3 separate regions of the Homo sapiens genome follow, and all the other regions are linked to region 3. The links are contacts of gene promoters, found by promoter capture Hi-C in blood cells and fetal thymus (Javierre and others, 2016). All regions are on one chromosome and are shown on one strand. The core of a region is centred on a gene start or on the middle of the fragment in contact, and the rest is flanking DNA. Distances in the headings are between cores, read along the strand shown. Region 1 has its middle 9.9 kb from the start of PLSCR4. Region 2 overlaps PLSCR4 (phospholipid scramblase 4). Region 3 holds the start of PLSCR1 (phospholipid scramblase 1).

Region 1 (2,889 bases), core at 221-2,720, 280 kb before region 3:
CTCACACTGTGCCTATATAATTTTATCTTCCTTATTAAGCCCATTTGGCTTCTCAGCCTTGTGACTAAAATCAGATGTAGCATATTAAGGTTAATAATTGAATCTGTATTATGTTTACCTATCATGTTAGCCATTTTCTTAGATTTTGTCACATGGAATTTGATAATCTTTTTCTTTATGTCTAAATTTATGTCACTGAAACAAATGTTGGGTTAGATAAAGAATCTAATAGGTCATTTCTGAGATTAACCTCTAGGATGACAGAAATTCAGTAATCAATACCTTCTGTAATTGTTCAACCAGCTAAAAATCCATTTAGACTTTCCTTTTACATAATCCACATTTTAAAATGTCTTGCTCACAGCAATGAATATTAAAATCTCTGCTTAATGTGTTAAAAACAGTGTTTATTATGACATGCTCATGATCTCTCTACTCCACCAGTCAGGAGGGAAGGGGAAATGAGTCCATTTTATAAGATTTGATTGAGAACACAATACTGCCTTTGTTAAATGCTCAAATGCTATTATTTACAACTTCTGTACTATAAATTTGCCTGAAACTGACATTACAATGCGTTGTTAGTTGAGTTGTGTCCCCCAAAAAGATATTTTGATATGATTTTATTTAGAAATTGTCTGTATAGATGTAATCAAAATAAAAGAAAACCAATACCGTATTAGGGTGCACCCTAATCCAATAACTGTGGCCTTATAAGAAGAGAGAAATTTGGATACAGAGACAGACACACAGAGAGAACCCATGTGACAATAAAGACAGAGATTAGAGTGATGCGTCTAGATAAGGAGCACCAAGGATTGCCAGCAACCACTAGAGTCTAAGAGAGAGGCATGAAACAAATTCTTTCTGAGTCTGCAAGAAGGAAATAACCCTACCAACATATATATATATATTTTCAGTTTTCTGGCCTTCACAACTGAGAGAAAATAAAATTCCGTTGTTTTAAATGATCTCGTGTGTGGTAATTTTTTAAGGCAATACTAGGAAACTATTACAAAATGTGTGAGTGTTTCTGTGTGTAATTTCTACAAGTCAATATTTTCTTTTCTTGAAAATTGGGACACAATTCGCTTTTTACTAGTTTTCTGAATCTTCACACATTCTGTGATGTTGAAAAGAAAATTGAGAGTGATTTCAATACAATATTTTCATGATTTTTGTCCCCATGGCTATAGTTGATATGATTTTAAAAGCTTGAACTCATTTATGCTATCTGGGTCAAATTGACCTTGATACATGGAGTAGAAAGTGAGTTGCATCTCCAAGAACACAAGAATAAAGAATGTAAAAGAGCAACTGAAGTATTTGGGGGAACATACGGAACTTCTATCAATTATCATTTAAATACATCGAGAAGCATATTTAGAAATGATTGCTTACAAATGGAAAAGGATCTTAAATCTTTCTGAAGTAAAATTGCTCTAAAAACACAATGGTTAAATTTTGTTGGAAAAAACTTTATATATACTTACATATAGATATATACGCCATGCTTATATGTATGCATACACTAGATATGCTTACATGTGATTACATAAGCATGGGGAAAAATGGAAGAACAAACTACTTTTATAAATATGGGTTATCTGGGGTGTGGCAGTAGTGGAAAGAGGAAAAAAATGAGAAAACTGTGGCTTGAGAGGATAAGTAACTTGACCCAACAAGTGATGGAGCTGAGATCTGAACCAAAGTCTGTATTGAATCTAAAGCTTACTGTCATAAACTTTGTTTAAAATGTTATGATATTCAATTCAATGTAGAAAGAGACAGTAAAACAATCTTTTTCAAAAGCGTGCTCTGTTCCTTGAAATTTAATTATAGGGTATCTCTTTTTTCCTTTCACAAAGCATATTAACCAACTTTTCTGTCTATTCATAGAGATATATTTAAATCTTACTTTTTAATTTAACAATATTTTATCTTAGGTATACTTCAGACAGATTAATACAAATATATCTGTGAAATGTCTAAAACTATTTTAAATTTAGAGTATTTATACTTTACTAATGGCTAGGCCATGTGATCATTACGTATTTATATATTTTTACAAAATCCTAAAATGGTTAATGCAGTTCAACAAAAATTTGAGGAACTAGAAAATTTTTGAGGCTGGCATTCCCAAAAGCAAAAATGAGAAAAAGGAAATATTTCTTGAAGTCAGGCAAGTAATTTAACTATATATCGATGAAAAGAGTATTTTAAATTCAAATTTTGTACACGGCAGCCTCGTATGTCACAATCTGCATAATTATTATAACATCAGGGCATTTAATTCAATAGTGTGAATGTTTAAGTTGTGATTAAAGACACACAAGTTTGCCATTGTCCTTAAATGTCGATAAATAACAAATTCTTTTTGTATAGTGTCTATATGCAAAGTGAATTATTTGCTGATTTAAAGAATTTTGGCTGAATCAGATCTACTGACATTTTATGTATATATTTAGGAATGTGAGTTATTCAAGTATGTGTCAGTGATTTAAAATAATGAATGTTAAAAAATTTACTAAAGTCTTAAACATGTAATGAAAAGAGTCTATTTTTTCTACAAAATTGCTCAAGACTTCTGAAATACAAAGCTGATAATGTCACTTCCAGGTTAAAGTCTTTCATTTTTCAGGGAAGATTTTTCATTTTAAAGCCTACAGTTTTCAAGAAAACTCTTAATATGTATTGTAGAACATACAGCCCTAATTTTCTTGCATTTGCTTAATTTTTTTTTTTTGCTTCACCATGTAGCACTTCCCTGTTTTCCATGTTCTAGTGATATGCTAGATACTATATCTATCTATCTATATACATATATCTGTATCTGTATCTATATAAATTCACCATTGTATTATGTTGGTTCATGACACTGTGAGGTTT
Region 2 (2,731 bases), core at 103-2,602, 300 kb before region 3:
TTGCCTAAAGTTTTTCTTTTAAGAGTTTCACATGAGAAGTCAGATCTTGAAGCAAACTTCCAGTGATCCCAGGAGCACTGAGTGACCAAGTTAAGGTACCCAGCATGCCCAGTGTACTCACTGCTCTTTCGCAGCAACTGGGGTCATGGGTGAGATTTTTGAATCTAAGCTTCATGAACTTCTGATTTGAGCTGAGTTTGAGCATTTTTGATCTACACTGGGTTTCAAAGTCATGCCAACAACAGGACTGGGCCCAGTAGGGAGGCCTCAGGTATTTGACTGGGTCAGACATAAACTCAACTCAGTTAGTAGGTAGGAAAGGTTAATAAAAGACATAGAATCATGGGTTTATCTGGTCAAAGGTTGCTAGAGCTTCGCCCTCTGGAATTCTAGCCAACTTCATGTATAAAAACCAGAGACCCAGAACCTGTGCTTTTCGAGACGAATGGGAGAACCTTAGCAAAAGTAACTTAGAATGGCTACAGTGGGAAAATTCCTTACGAAAGGCAAACAGGTTTATGTCTTTACAGTTGTAAAGGCTACAGGGCCCAAGAGGATCCCAAAATAAAGAACCCTATGCCCCAAGATGTCTGCCTTTATGGTAAACACTCATGCAACTGGAAAATACATTGTCCACTTTTATATTAGCCATCTAATGGATCCACTACCTTTTGTCTGAACTATTTCTCCACCAGAGAAAGCCCCCAAAGGCTTTAATCCCAAAACAGTAACCCATCAATCTCTCAGGGAGGAAAAACAAATTCTGTGGTGGGGGTTTCAAATCAAACCTGGAAAGTTCCTAATTGACACTTGGACCATTTTCAGAAAAAAAATTTGTAAGAATTAGTTCTGTTATCTGTATTTCATCCTGCTTCTTCCATGGGGATCTCTCAATTGACTGAAACCCCTCTTCTCAAACTCCTGCTAACAATATGCTCTACCAACTGTATACATCTTTTTTTTTATTATACTTTAAGTTTTAGGGTACATGTGCACAACATGCAGGTTTGTTACATATATACATCTCTTTCTTATCATCATGATCCTGACTATGCTCCAAAACTCTTGAAAAACAAAAAAATAGAAAGCAAAACAAAAACTGTGTTGTCATTTATTCTTGAAAACAAAGAAATGAACAAAAAGGATGAACCAATCTCTAACTTTAAGAAAAGATTATAATATTCATGCAGAGTTCGGGCACATAAAATGCTGTATAGACTAAGCAACCCTAATCCAAAAGTCCAAAATCTGAAATGCTCAAAAATCCAAAACTTTCAGCACCAACATGATGTCACAAGTGAAAGATGATGAGGACACTGTTAAAACTGCAAAGTGCCTATAGATGACATGGTGAAAATATGTGATGGGTTTACTGAAGGACTCTAAGAGCATTCATTCATCACAGAATAAGAAATTGTGTCAGTCTGTAAAATCAACAGAGACTTCTAAGACAAAAACCATTGTTAATGAGACAGCGGACTCCAGAGGAAACATTCTGAAAAGTCATCCATCAGAATGCTTCCTCATTTGTAGAGAAAACACTTGCTGGTCACTTGGCTACTTCTGATATTTCTTCTCACTTAAAATAATAAAATTCAGTGAATGATAACCTTGTAATCAAAATACAGCATTGTAGGTAAAGAATGAAAGCCTGCCATTGCTTATTGGTGGCTTTCCGACACAGGCATTCTGGAGATACTACTGTGCTGCTTAGTTACCCTGAACGCATTCTCTTTTCACTGTACTAATGATACATCCTATTTTTTACTGTTAAGCACTTATTTGTGAGTAATGTAAGAAAATGATTACTTATCAGTAGCATAATGAATTTAGAGTCAGGAATGATGGTGACGTCAAATAACCACAGATTGTCCACATGGGTGATTGAGATACTGATACCTTTGCTTTCTGATGGTTCAACGTACGTAAACGTTTCATACACAACATTATCAAAAATATTGTATAAAATTATCTTCAGGCTATATGTTTAAAACATAATGGAACATGAATTTCATGTTTACTTGGGTCCCATTCTCAAGATACCTCATTATGTACATGCATGCCTTGTTTTACTGTGCTTTGCTATACTGTGATTCACAGATACTCCATTTTTTTAAACAAATTGAGGGTTTGTGGCATCCTTGTATCAAGGAGTCTATCAGTGCCATTTTGCAGAACAGCAACTTCTCAGTTTGTCTCTTTGTCAAATTTTGGTAATTCTCACAATATTTCAGACTTTTTCATAACAATCTGTTATGGTGATCTATGATCAGTGATCTTTGATGTTACTATTATAATTGTTTTGGGACCCCATGAACCATGCCTATATAAGATGGTGAACTTAGTAAGTGTTGTTGTGACTGCTCCACAGAGCAACTATTCTCCCATCTCTCCCCTTATTCTAGGACCTCCCTATTCCCTGAGACAAAACAATATTGAAATTAGGCCAATTAATAAGCCTACAAATGCCTCTAAATATTCAAGTGAAAAGAAGGTTCGTGCATCTCTCACTTTAAGTCAAAAAGCTGGAAAAGATTAAGCTTAATGAGGAAGGCATGCTGAAAGCAAAGACAGGCCAAAAGCTAGGCCTAGATTCCTCTGATGAATCTAGGCAACGTAAATTGAAAACTTTCTAAAAAGGATTCACCATTTTAGATACCACTAAGAACTTTTGTTATTCATGGGAGGAAGTCAAAATATAAATATTAACAGGAGCTTGGAAGAAGTTGAT
Region 3 (2,907 bases), core at 232-2,731:
TCCTGAGCTGGAGGAACGTCCCTCATTCAAGTAAAGGAAGACGAGTGAGGTTACAGAGCAAAAGAGGGAGACATTCTTAGAGATGAAGATGGAGAAGTACATAAGGGTCTGCTCACACACATCTGATGTCTCTCCACCTGTATGTACTCTAAGCTCCTTTACAGATCTAAAGGCAGTTTGATCTATAAACCAGCTATTTTACATGCCACTTTTCTATCCAATTGCATAAATCCACTCTTTCCCTTTATATGTCTTTTTCATTTCCCCGCATTTTCTCATTGTTCAAAGCCCTACTATTGTTGTAAACAGGGTGGCATTAAGACAAAGGTTTGCTCTTAGAAAAAGTTCAAGAAGGGAGCCCCCAAACTGTCTGACACGTTTAAGTGTCACTTGTAGTAACCATGTATCTCAATGTGATAAGCCAGAAAAAACAACGACTGCCTGTTCCTGGAACTGGGAAGTGGCCATGCCAAGACTTCCAGGAATAACAGTGCATGAATGAAACCACCTGGGAACCAGAGAATCAGCTTGGAGAAGCAGGAACTTTGTCAAATATTTAAAATAATAAGAGCTAACTTTCACTGAGTACTTTCTGTAGCGCCAGGCACTGCTCTAAGAATTTTACATTAATACTCTGTAGCTCATTTAATAGTTACACAATTTCAGAGATGAGGCAATGGAAAGAACATATATAAGAAGAAAGTGGCTGACAGTCCACAGACGTGAAGCAGTAGAGGCCGAATTTAAAGTCGGGGAGCCTGACTGGAGCTAATGGTCTTAGGAACCGTGCTAGATACCGCCACTATCTTTCCTAAGCTGGTATTGTAGAGGGCCTAGCATAGATGTGGGCTCCGGCGGACTTCATTGAATACTTACTGATAAATGACAGCTTGCAGGCTGTATTAACCATTCCTTCTAATAGCCCCACTACGCTGGCACATGCTCCTGAGCCCAGACTCTACCCAGGATTCAGGGCCGCTCTCTACCTGTAAAGCAGTGTAGCTAAGGGGAAGCTGAGCCCCGCAAGGCGTTTTCAGGCAGGGCACCCCTTGTCATTCGAATGGTTCTGGGGTGAGCCCGGGTGCCGCTGGGCCGCCTGGGGCCCCTTGCCGTGTACCTGCTCCACTTCCAGGGTCCCTTTCAGAGGCCTCTTGCATTTCTGGCCCCAACCTTCACCCCACATCCTCCACCCCCAGAGCAGCAAACACAACCTGCGGGCCCTCGCGCCGGTTCCCCACAAGTTGCCCTCCACACCTGACCCCGGCCCTGGCCCCAGCGCAGGCTCCGCGCAGTTCCCGCGCCCAAGTCCCCAGGAGGCGGCAGAGAAAGCCGCCCGCGCACCTCTGGCTGCCGCTGTTTCCGCTCCCGAGCGAGACAAGGTCCAGAGAGCCGGGGCCAGGCGATGGCTTCCTCTTCTGCGCCTCTAGACTGCCGGGCACAGCTGCTGCGCAACCTTCTCAGAAGTCAGCCGGAAAAGGGTCTGGGAGTAACCTTTGCGCCAACACCCGCGGCTCCTGGTTTCGTTTCCTGAATCTTACGTACACAACACGGTTTCCTTTTCCCGGTTCCCGCGCTGGCGCTCGGGGACCCACGAGACTACTGGAGGGTGAAGGAGCTGGAGGAGGGACTGCGCCCACCCCCTGGTGTGAGGCCCCTCCCCTACCCCCGACTTGCTTTCTTGCTCATTGGAGAGACTCCAGAGACGTTTGTCCGGTGGTTAAGGAGAGGAACTGGGACTCCGACACTAACTGGAACTGGAAAGTCATCAGCTGGGGAGTGGCCTCCCCCGGGAACTTTCTTTACTCTGGCTTTGACCTCCATCCCTCGGAAGCCCGTGGCTTTTCAAGGCGAGGGAGTAGAGGCAGCTTAAGACTACAAATGAGGAGGGGCCAAAATTGTTTTTCTTTATGGTGCCTTTTCTTTCTTGCTGTCTTGCTCTTTCTTTCCTTCTATTAAATTATGTGATATTACTTTTTAATTTTTAAGCAGTTATTTGAATGTTTTCGAGCTCACTTTATTTTTTTATAAATATTGTTCCTTTTTAAACTAAAATAGTTTTTATTCTGTGTATTTAAGTTATTTGTATGACATATCCATCAACTCCTATAATTACACATTTCCCCCCTTGGGGCAAGAGCAGCTATAATCTACTTATTTAGCATAAATCCTGAATACCACTATCATTAACTATAGCCCTCATGTTGTACATTAGGTCTTCCCATTTGTTCATCCTACGTGTTTGTAACTTTGTATACTTTTACCTAAATTTCCCCATTTCTCCTGACCCCACTCCAACCTGGATGACCCTGGATAAACCAGTGGTCCCCAACCTTTTTGGCACCAGGGACCAGTTTCACGGAAGAGGATTTTTCCATGGACCAGGGCCGGGTGGCAGACGGTTTCAGGATGATTCAAGCACATTACGTGTATTGCGCACTTTACTTCTATTATTATTACATTGTAATATATAATAAAATAATTATACAACTCACCATAATGTGGAATCAGTGGGAGCCCTGACCTTGTTTTCCTGCAATTAGAAGGTCCCATCTGGGAACGGTGGGAGACAGTGACACCAGAAGTGTGTTGCTTATGTCCAGTCTACTCCGTAATCTTGTTTTGGTTGCTGTCACTGCAGAAAATCCTGCTTCACAAAGATAGCATGTTGGAAATGGAAGCAGACTCTTCAGTGCTTTTGTGGCAATCTCAGGATATCCCACCTTGAGTTTAATCCAGAACATGGGATTTGAAGCTGTCTCAAACATACTTTTAAGGCCACCATCATTTGTGATCTCAAGCAATTGATCCTCTTCTAGTACGGACAAAATCGATTCACCTGACTTACTCACAAATGGGTCATGGATACATTCATTCCCAGTTCAGGGTTCTTTTGTGGTTGGGTAGTAA

The links. The method cuts DNA at HindIII sites, captures the fragments that hold promoters and counts their contacts. A CHiCAGO score of 5 or more calls a contact.
Region 1: a contact is called between a fragment that was not itself captured here and the fragment with the promoter of PLSCR1 in region 3, in 1 of 17 cell types (fetal thymus). The highest score is 5.6, in fetal thymus.
Region 2: a fragment that was not itself captured here is called in contact with the fragment with the promoter of PLSCR1 in region 3 in 6 of 17 cell types (naive B cells, total CD4 T cells, erythroblasts and 3 more); the score reaches 9.0 in naive B cells.

The regions. Positions count from the first base shown.
Region 1 is chr3:146,259,605-146,262,493 of GRCh38, forward strand. No RefSeq gene overlaps it. Among named protein-coding and RNA genes, the nearest start is that of PLSCR4, 9.9 kb to the left of the region's middle. The HindIII fragment of the contact is 516 bases long and covers 1,213-1,728 here.
Region 2 is chr3:146,242,284-146,245,014 of GRCh38, forward strand. All of the region lies in intron 1 of PLSCR4 (phospholipid scramblase 4), which reads right to left. Among named protein-coding and RNA genes, the nearest start is that of PLSCR4, 7.5 kb to the right of the region's middle. The HindIII fragment of the contact is 2,371 bases long and covers 168-2,538 here.
Region 3 is chr3:146,543,126-146,546,032 of GRCh38, forward strand. PLSCR1 (phospholipid scramblase 1) reads right to left here and starts at 1,482. Exons shown (of 9, transcript NM_021105.3): 1 at 1,342-1,482. RefSeq lists an enhancer at 1,332-1,811. The HindIII fragment of the contact is 8,607 bases long and covers 1-2,907 here.